2 separate regions of the Homo sapiens genome follow, and region 2 is linked to region 1. The links are contacts of gene promoters, found by promoter capture Hi-C in human tissues and cell types (Jung and others, 2019). All regions are on one chromosome and are shown on one strand. The core of a region is centred on a gene start or on the middle of the fragment in contact, and the rest is flanking DNA. Distances in the headings are between cores, read along the strand shown.

The links. The method cuts DNA at HindIII sites, captures the fragments that hold promoters and counts their contacts. A contact is called where the count stands out against the background at its distance.
Region 2: a fragment that was not itself captured here is called in contact with the fragment with the promoter of TMOD2 in region 1 in 2 of the 25 tissues and cell types used here (dorsolateral prefrontal cortex and psoas muscle).

The regions. Positions count from the first base shown.
Region 1 is chr15:51,749,650-51,754,488 of GRCh38, forward strand. It overlaps TMOD2 (tropomodulin 2), which reads left to right and starts at 1,948. Exons shown (of 10, transcript NM_014548.4): 1 at 1,948-2,063. It also overlaps a transcript of LYSMD2 not described here. RefSeq lists an enhancer at 1,502-1,571 and silencers at 1,682-2,111, 2,162-2,271, 2,302-2,361. The HindIII fragment of the contact is 8,938 bases long and covers 1-4,839 here.
Region 2 is chr15:52,022,236-52,027,074 of GRCh38, forward strand. The region is part of intron 1 of MAPK6 (mitogen-activated protein kinase 6); the gene reads left to right. Among named protein-coding and RNA genes, the nearest start is that of MAPK6, 5.4 kb to the left of the region's middle. RefSeq lists an enhancer at 2,689-3,269. The HindIII fragment of the contact is 8,453 bases long and covers 1-4,839 here.

The DNA of each region.
Region 1 (4,839 bases), core at 698-3,197:
TGCTTTATTATTTTCAGCATATGCCTACTATCAGCTTTCTCTGGGAAAACTGCTGGCTCGATCCGTAAGCAGCCCTGTTCTTATTTAACAGAAGGCTATGACTGTAACAAATGTACAACATAAAAAAGTCAAAGGCATCCTGTCGGTTACACAGGACATTCGGAATAACAAATGTACAGGAAAACTTGGGAACATGACTTAAAGTAATTTGGTCACACCCCCATTTCATTTAACTCTTTCTGGCTCAGATTTGTCATTCTGACAGGAGGCCCAAGATATAGTCCATTACCACAATTGATCATAGAAACAACACTGGTCTCTCAGTCAGCAGCCACTGCGTGCCAGTGTTCATCATGCTAGTTCCCAGAGTTTTAGAGGATTAACTTTACTTTCTGGTTCAACCCATCTGCTGGGGAAGGTATGGCCCTATTTTGCAATGTGCAAAAGGGAGACAGTGCTGGGGGTGCCCACAGTGGAAGGAGAGAAGACAGGCTTACTGAACACCCCTATGACCTTGAATAAGTCACATCACCTCTCTGTGCCTCTTATTAACTATCATTGGGGAAAAATACCTTCACTCTGCCTGTCTCACAAGGGTTCTTGTAAAAATCAAATGAGAACACAAATAGGAAAGTATTTTCATAAATGCAAACCAGTGTTATCATTTTCAGATGTGGAATTTCCTCTGCAGCACGTTTTTTTGGCCACACGATTACTGCACACCTCGTGCCAGACAGACTATAAAGCTGTTTCACCTCTTTTCACATTTTGCCTAAAATTTCATATAGAGATTACACCAGCCATGCTGCATCCATCCCTTTGGTTCATTTTCCTCCACTACATCTGTGAATGCAAATCCCACCATCATGTGAAACACTGCATAGCAGCAACTTGCAAAACTCAACGAACCTTAGACTGCCAAGATAAGTCCCATAAGCAAAGGTTATGCTCAAAATATGCTGCAAAAGTTCAAGAAGGAGAGAGATATCACATCTAATTAGAAAAGGCCTCTGGAAGTTAAATCTAGATGCCATGTATTTTCATAATGTTGGTCTTTGTCCTATGTCACCCCACTCTGCTGTCATGCTTCAGAAACTTGACTTTATTTTCTCTATCTTTGGAGCTCTCAAGAACCTGGCAGACAGAACATCTCAGGGTATATTCAGGGATGAAGTGAACGGGCTCAACGACTAACAAACCCAGTGGATTTTAACATTTACCCAGCCCAACGAGGTCCAACTATCTTTAGGTTAGCACGACATATAGGACTTTCCCGGCCCAAGAACTCCCTCGGAAACCCCAAGGAAGGAACTTTCACTGAGTATGCACTAAGTGCCAGATCCTAAGTGCTATGGGTCGCTTAATCCTCACAACACTTTTTCAAGCTTGAAGCCTGTTTTACAGATGAGGACGCGAAGGCTCAGACAGGCTAAGTTGTCCGGTCTCACCTCAGTGAAGCCGCCACTGCGCTTGGGCTCTCCAGCCCCTCACGCCATCACCCTAGAGCCTTGCTAACTTCCACCTCGCTTACCTCCTTCCCTCCCTAGGCTGCCAACCCAACTACTCTCTCCTCCCACGCCCACGCCCAGCCAGGAAAACCTGGGGCGGGCGGGGTCTGTACCTGAGACCGCTCTCAACGCGGCTTCCGTGTCAGGATGCTCGCTCACAGGAATGCTCATCACAGGCTTGAAAGCCTTTGCCATCCACGCTCTCCGGAGCCCCGAGCGTCTCCAAAGAGCCTGCCCAGGCTTCTCCCCGACCCAGGTGCTTCCTCCCCTGCAGAGCTGTGGCGGGGTTCAGACCCCGATTCCGGGAGAGGACACCTGTCGGGGAAGGGCGGGGCTGGGGGACTGCGGGGCCGCGGCGAGGCTCAGCCGGGAACTACGCTTCCCAGCCTGCTCCGCTGCAGCCGCGCGCCCCGGCGCCGCGCCCGGCCGGGAGCCGCCTGTTGATCGCCGCGCTCGCCCCGGCCACGGCGCCGCCCCTGTTCTCCCGGCCCCGCTCCACCGGGGCTGACGGACTGACGGCCAGCACAGCCGGCTCCGGGATGAGCGCACGGACGGGTGAGCGCCCCGGGGGGCGGGTGGGGCCTGTTCTGGACAGCCGGTGTCTGCAGCCCCCGGGCCCGCAGCGCGGTGGCCGCCGTGCCCTCCCTGCCCGCGGGAGGATGCTCCGCGACATGGGCGGTCGGCCGGGCGGGCGTGCAGAGCCGGGCCGCCTCTCGCCTCTCGCCTCCCGGCCCGGTCGGCTGCGCCGGGAGACCAGGCGCTGCGCCCGGGCGGGAGGCGCCCGCCGGGGTGTGAGTCCCGCGCCCCGCACTGCGGTGCCGCAGCCTCTGCAGCCCGCTGGGCCGCAGCGGGGAGGGCGCGGTCTCCTGTCCTCCCGGGCTGCGGGGCTGTGTTCTTCCACTCCGGGCTTTGTTCCCCCACTTTTCCCCTTCCTGTGCATGTTTGGTGAGCTCCTGGAGCGGTATGCATCTCCCTGCCTCGTTCAGCAGGCGATGGGGAGGGGTGGACTGGCCGGCGTCTTTCCTGAGATCGCTGGAGCTGTCACTCGCAGGGCGTTTCAGCCTCCCAGTAAGCGGCCTCGTGCGGATCCTCGAGAACCTTATTATTATTGTTATTACTTTTCTGGTTAAAGTAATTGTAGTATGTGCTCCCTTGAGGCTTCCTAAATGTTCCCTGTTGACCTGCGGAAATGAAGGTGGATTTTTAAAACAGTAATAAAAGGCTTCTAATGGGAATTTTTAGAGTATTCAGAGGTAGGAAGGTGATGCCGTCACAATGCAAATTAGCAGTGAAGGAGGCCGTGCTTACTGCAGCTTCGTCTGTGCCCATTACATATCTGAATCACGAGGCATTTAGGACGGGAATGAAAAGAAGATCGGGGGAGGTGTTTTAAAAACCAGGTTCTCCTCTTAGCTTGACCATTCAGGAGCTGAGGGACCTGGGCAAGTCCCTCCACCTCTCTGGGCCTCTGCATGTAAAGGGGCGTTTGGGCTAAATGATTTGTAAACCTCTGTTCTTCCAAGATTCTCCCCTCTCAGGGAACTGAAAAGATGAGAGTGTTTCTGTTTAACAGCACTACAAAAAGCCTAATTGTGACAACAAGCGCCTCTACCCTAGTGAGGAGGAAAGATTTTTCAGAGCTTCAGCAATCTGATTTTTTTTTAAAGATAAAACTGATTTTCTCGATCGACTCTCTTCAGTCTAACCCAATAAATACGCATTGCAATCATTTTAATTTTTGTAAGGTACTGTACATTGGTGGGCAACAAAATGATGGGGTTTGTTTTTGTCTTTAATTTGCTGAAGGTGAAGTGATGGGATCAGCAGATAAAGGATTAGTGGCTCCCTAGGGCTGGGCACGAGTGGTCAAATGTGGTCAGCATGGAGGTCGGGGAGGAAGCCCCAGCAAGAAGTAACCAGAATGTGTATACACAGAAAAGAGAAGTTGCGTACTGATGGATCATTGTTTGAAAAAGAAATATGCAATAGAAGGAATGAGAGAATCAGGAACTCGGCGCTCTGCAAACCTAACATAACAGTTGAATAAGGCAAGGACTTACCAACTGGTCCAAAACCTTTGAGTGAAAGGTGGTTGGGGAATAGGATTTTCATATTATTTCAAAGTATCTCACCACAGTTTACTCTGGGAAAATTTGTCCTTACAATGGAGAAATTAGGAGGTCACCACTGGAACCAAATGACCAAGTTTAGCAGCATCTACTGCGAGTCTCCCGTTGTGAAGCAATAAGGAGGCATAATTTCACCTCTGTAGTGTTCCTGCAAAAAGACTTGGCGATGGGGCAGAGCAAATGGGAGCAACTATTGTAGGTTAAAATACTCAAGTGATACAATAGTGAATTGGGATGTGTGAACTTTGAATCCTAGATGCAAAAAAAAAAGCTATAAAAGACAATTTGGAGATAGTTGGGGATGTTTGAATATGGATTGCATGTTAGATGATATTATGGAATTGGTGTTAATTTTCTTAGGTGCAATAATAGTTCATTCTTGTGGTTACCTAGACCAGACAATCCTTATTCTTTGGAGATGTGGATATTGGAGGTGAAGTGTCATGACATCTGCAACTTTCAGCTGTGTCAGAAAAAAAAAAAAAAGGATAGGGGTAGCAGAACAAGTTCAGGAACGTAGCAAATGTGGCAGAATGATGACGGTTGGTGAATCAAGAAGAAAACAAATGTTTATTGTACTATTCTTTTAACTTTTCTATAGATTTGAACTTTAAGAAATGGGGAAGTCAATAAAATAAATAAGCGAATAAAGAGAAAGTGTTGTAGAAGACGGGGGTGGTTCGTGACAAACAGCTGCAGTGAATCTGTGGGGAATTTCTTGGCTTCACCTTCCCAAAATTGAAATCACCTATTGGAGGTGTGAGTGGGGGGGACGGGGGGTTGGTGTTCCCATTTTTGGTTTATCTTGGCTACTCTCAATCATTTATGCTTAAGTACCCCATCCTCTAGCTTCAACTTCAAAGTATTAGTAATTCTCCATACCTAAGAAATTCTAGCCCTACCCAAGAACCATCCCGAAAGTGCTGTCCCTTTCCTCTCTGTGTCCGAGATCTGTGTCAGTGTGTAAGGAAGTTTGAGAACATAGGCAGTGGTTCATTTTATTTTGGGTTAGGGTAGTGTTGGGGGAAAAATGATTTAGCTTTGTGATAGGATAGAAGTTTTGGGGTTTCCTCTCATTCCCTTGTGTGTAAATCATATACAACCAAATGTTTTCCTTATAGACTTTAAGTGGTTCAAAGAGGTTCATAGAAGGCATGTGCAGAAGAGACTTCCTGTTACCAGACCACGAAAACAGAATCAAC
Region 2 (4,839 bases), core at 1,245-3,744, 270 kb after region 1:
GATTTGAGGAGTTTGTGGACAGTAAAGTGTTTGTTGTTTTTGTGAGACAGGGTCTTGCTCTGTCACCCTGGCTGGAGTGTAGTGGTGCGATCACTGTTCACTGCAACCTCTACTTCCCGGGCTCAGGTGATCTTCCTGCCTCAGCCTCCGGAGGAGCTGGGACTACAGCTGTGTGCGACCATGCCTGGCTAGTTTTTCGTATTTTTTGTAGAGATGAATGTTCACAGTGTTGCCCAGGCTGTTCTTGAACTCCTGGGCTCAAGCAATCTGCCTGCCTCAGCCTTCCAGAGTGTTGGGATTACAGGTGTGAGCCCCTGCTCCCAGCCCATAAAATGTATTGTTAATGTGAATTAAATTTTTGGAACTATTTTGGAAGAGTATTGCATGATTTATACCTAGAGGTTTTTTTTTTACAAAGTTTAATTCAAACTTAAAAAAAATTTCCTACTAGAGGAAACATAAAAATACAAATATAAAAGTATTGAAAATTTTCAGAGCATCACATTACTTAGAGGTTTAACGTATTTTCGGCATTGTTTTCAAATATAGGTAATTAGCTGTAGTGCATAATTCAGAGTTTAAAAACAAACTGAGGCCGGGGGCAGTGGCTAACGCTTGTAATCCCAGCACTTTGGGAGGCTGAGGAGGCAGATCACGAGGTCAGGAAATCGAGACCATCCTGGCCAACATGGTGAAACCCCGTCTCTAATAAAATACAAAAATTAGCTGGGTGTGGTGGCACGTGCCTGTAATCCCAGCTACTCAGGAGGCTGAGGCAGGAGAATCGCTTGAACCCGGGAGGCAGAGGTTGCAGTGAGCCGAGATTGTGCCAGTGCACTCCAGCCTGGGTGACAGAGCGAGACTCCGTCTCAAAAAAAAAAAAAAAAAAAAAACCGAAAAACAAACAAAATAACTGGATATCTTAGCCTGCTTCCTGTCTCCAAGGTACTGCTTTATGAAATGCTGAGCCTTCTTACCACTGCTATCCAGTTCTTTGTTACATTTGAACCTTGTGTTACTCTAGGTCCCCTGTTAAAATGGAAAGAAGATGCCTCAGAAGTAAATTCTGTGTGGCATTGTTGGCTGCCTTCATTAGTTCCTTCAGCCTGTTTTGTGGGCTGTTGAACATTACACTACAACCTGCCAGTGGTGTGGGAATTTTGCTCATTTTTATTGCTGAGAGCCTTGACTGAGACTTCACAAAAACAACTCCAATGTTACTGTAGTTAATGGCATTTTCCAGGGGTTGCTTTCATGTGAAGCTGATGCTTTTAAGGTGACAGTGATTTGGGCCTAGTCCAGCATTGATTGGTTTTTTCACCTCCATGAACTGCGTATTTGGAAAATAATGTGTGTCTCTCTAAGAGTTTTTTTGTTTGTTTGTTTTTTGTTTTTGAGACGCTGTCTCCCTCTGTTGCCAGGCTGGAGCGCAGTCGCGCCATCTCGGCTCACTGCAACCTCCACCTCCTAGGTTCAAGCGATTCTTCAGCTTCAGCCTCCCGAGTAGCTGGGACTACAGGTGCGCACCACCATGACCAGCTAATTTTTGTATTTTTTTTAGTACAGACAGGGTTTCATTATGTTGGCCAGGATGGTCTCATCTCCTGACCTTGTGATCCGCCTGCCTGGGCCTCCCAAAGTGCTGGGATTACGGGCATGAGCCACCGCGCCCAGCCAATAGAGTTCTAAAAGTTTTGTCTTTTATACATGTCAGTCTTCTAAGTCCATTTCTAAAAAATTGTTCAGAGATTGAATGTTTGTATAGCAAATACAATTTCCCATTGATTTTCGTTAAATTTGGTATTTTTTTCACAGAAAAAAATGGTATCATAAAACTTGTTTTTTAGAATCCTAGCATTTACCTCAGAAAAGTCTGCCTCTGCAGAAAGTGCAAATCTGTATGCATTTAATTCTGTACAATCATAAAACTTTAAAATATTAGTGTTTTGGAGGGGTCATGGGCATTATCTTGCTTCATTCATGTACATCGTTTGACAGCTAAGGAAACCAAGGCCTGAAGAGATCTAAGATCTTGGTACTGAAAGTGTGATTTCTGGACCAACAGTATTAGCATCACCTGGGAACTTGATAGACGTTAGAATCTTGACTTCATCTCAGTCCTACGGTCCTACTGAATTAGAATCTTAGAATCTACTTTTTCTTTTTCTTTTTTTTTTTTTTTGGAGACGGAGTCTCACTCTGTCACCCAGGCTAGAGTGCAGTGGCACGATCTTGGCTCACTGCAAGCTCCGCCTCCTGGGTTCACGCCATTCTCTTGCCTCAGCCTCCTGAGTAGCTGGGACTACAGCTGCTGCCACCGCGCCTGGCTAATTTTTTGTGTTTTTAGTAGAGACGGGGTTTCACCGTGTTAGCCAGGATGGTCTCGATTTCCTGACCTTGTGATCCGCCCGCCTCGGATCCGCCCGCCCGCCCAGCACTCCCAAAGTGCTGGGATTACAGGTATGAGCCACCGCGCCCGGCCTTCTTTTTTTGTAAATAAGAGGCACAATCTTGCCCTGTTGCCCAGTTTGGATTGGAGTGTAGTGGTGTGATCATAACGCACTGCCACCTGGAACTCCTGGACTCAAGTAATCCTCTCACCTCAGTAGCTGGGACTACAGGCATGTGCCATCATACACTGCCTTTTTTTTTTTTTTTTTTTTTTTTAAGAATTGGAGTCTCACTGTGTTGCCCATGCTCGTCTCAAACTCCTGGCCTCCTAACGTGCTGGGAAGAACCTGCATTTTAACAAGATTTTCAAGTCATTCAGTGCGCATTCAGTTTGAGAAGCACTGCTAAACGATGCATACACCTGGGCAACATAGTGAGACCCTGTCTCTACAAAATAAAATAAAATTAGCCTGTTGTAGTGGTGCACACCTTTAGTCCCAGCTACTTATGAGGCTGAGATGAGAGGATTGCTTGAGCCCAGGAGGTTGAGGCTGCAGTGAGCCGTGATCGCACCGCAGCGTTCCAGCCTGGGCAACAGCAAGAGACCCTGTCTCAAAAAATACGTAAATAAATAAAAATTAAAATGATGCATACATGGTTGCTCAGCTCGTTAGTCTTCTGAGTTGCTCTTTCCACTGGCCCTTCTGAAAAAAGTCAAATGGAAAATTTGGAAGCTAATCACTGCCCAGTTGAACTTTCTATGATGATAGAAGTGTTCTGTGCTATCCAGTGAGGTAGCCATTGGCCATGTGTGACTGTTGAATACTTGACGAGCAAGTAGTGCACTTGAGGAATTGAATTTTTTATTTAATTTTAATTCCTTTAAATAGTTGGGGCTGGGCGCCGTGGCTCACGCCTGTAATGCCAGCACTTTGGGAGGCTGAGGCGGGCGGATCACGAGGTCAGGAGATCGAGACCATCCTAGCTAACATGGTGAAACCCTGTCTCTACTAAAAATACAAAAAATTAGCCGGGTGGCGGGCGCCTGTAGTCCCAGCTGCTTGGGAGGCTGAGGCAGGAGAATGGCATGAACCCAGGAGGCGGAGCTTGCAGTGAGCGCCACTGCACTCCAGTCTGGGTGACAGAGCAAGACTACGTCTCAAAAAAAAATAAAAATAGTTGGATGTAGCTGGTGGTTACATGGACAGCACAGATCTAGATGATCTTTGCCCACTCTAAAATCTAAGCTGTAATTTAATAACTGGTTAGACTCAGTTTAATAATTGTCCTTTCTTAATGTACAAATTGGAGAGAGAGTATGTTGACTTAGTTTTTCTAATATGCCCAGATATTATTTCAGTATGTATTATAAAACAGTGCTGATTTTCTAATTGATACATCTGTGTTCAATAAAGTAGATAATCTAAGTTGTAAGCAAGTCAGTTTCTTTCCATCTTAACAGGTATTTTCACTTGAATTTTTAAAAAGTAGCTATTAAGTTTTCCTTAGTTATCCTGTGGAAAGCATTGGCAGGATAGTTTTTGCCTCTGGCCTAGTCCCTCTAGGCTTGTTGGCACTTGTTGATTACTTCCAGATTGATCTGCTGTTTATGTTAATTCCAGGTACCGAAACAGTGGTTCTTAACCTCCTACCTTTTTTTGTTTTGTTGTTGTCGTTGTTTTGAGACGGAGTTTTGCTCTTATTGTTCAGGTTGGAGTGCAATGGTGTGATCTTCGCTCACTGCAGCCTCCGCCTCCTGGGTTCAAGTGATTCTCCTGCTGCAGCCTCCCAAGTAGCTGGGATTACAGGCATGCACCACCACGCCCAGCTAATTTTATGTTTTTAGTAGAGATGGGGTTTCAACCATGTTGGCCAGGCTGGTCTTGAACTCCTGACCTCAAGTGATCCACCCGTCTCGGCCTCCCAAAGTGCAGGGATTACAGGCGTGAGCCACCGTGCCTGGCCTTAACCTCCCACCTTATGCAGTGGGAAGATTCTAACCCTATAGTCACAGGCCTATGTCCAAATCTTGGCATTTACTGTGTGTGTAAAGAGCATCAGTGCTCTTGTTTGTAAAATGACATTTACAAGACTGTAGTTTGAGATGAGAGAAATAATTTGTCATTTAGAAAATGCCTGTCATGGCTGGGCGCGATGGCTCATGCCTGTAATCTCAGCACTTTGGGAGGCCGAGGCAGGCGGATCACAAAGTCAGGAGTTCTAGACTAGCCTGGCCAACATGATGAAAACCCGTCTTTACTAAAATACAAAAAATTAGCTGAGTATGGTGGTGCATACCTGTACTCCCAGCTACTCTGAAGGCCCAGGCAGGAGAATCGCTTGAACCCAGGAGGCGGAGGTTGCAGTGAGCCGAGATCACACCATTGCACTCCAGCCTGGGCGACAGAGCAATACTCTGTCTTGAAAAAAGAAAATGCCTGTCACAGC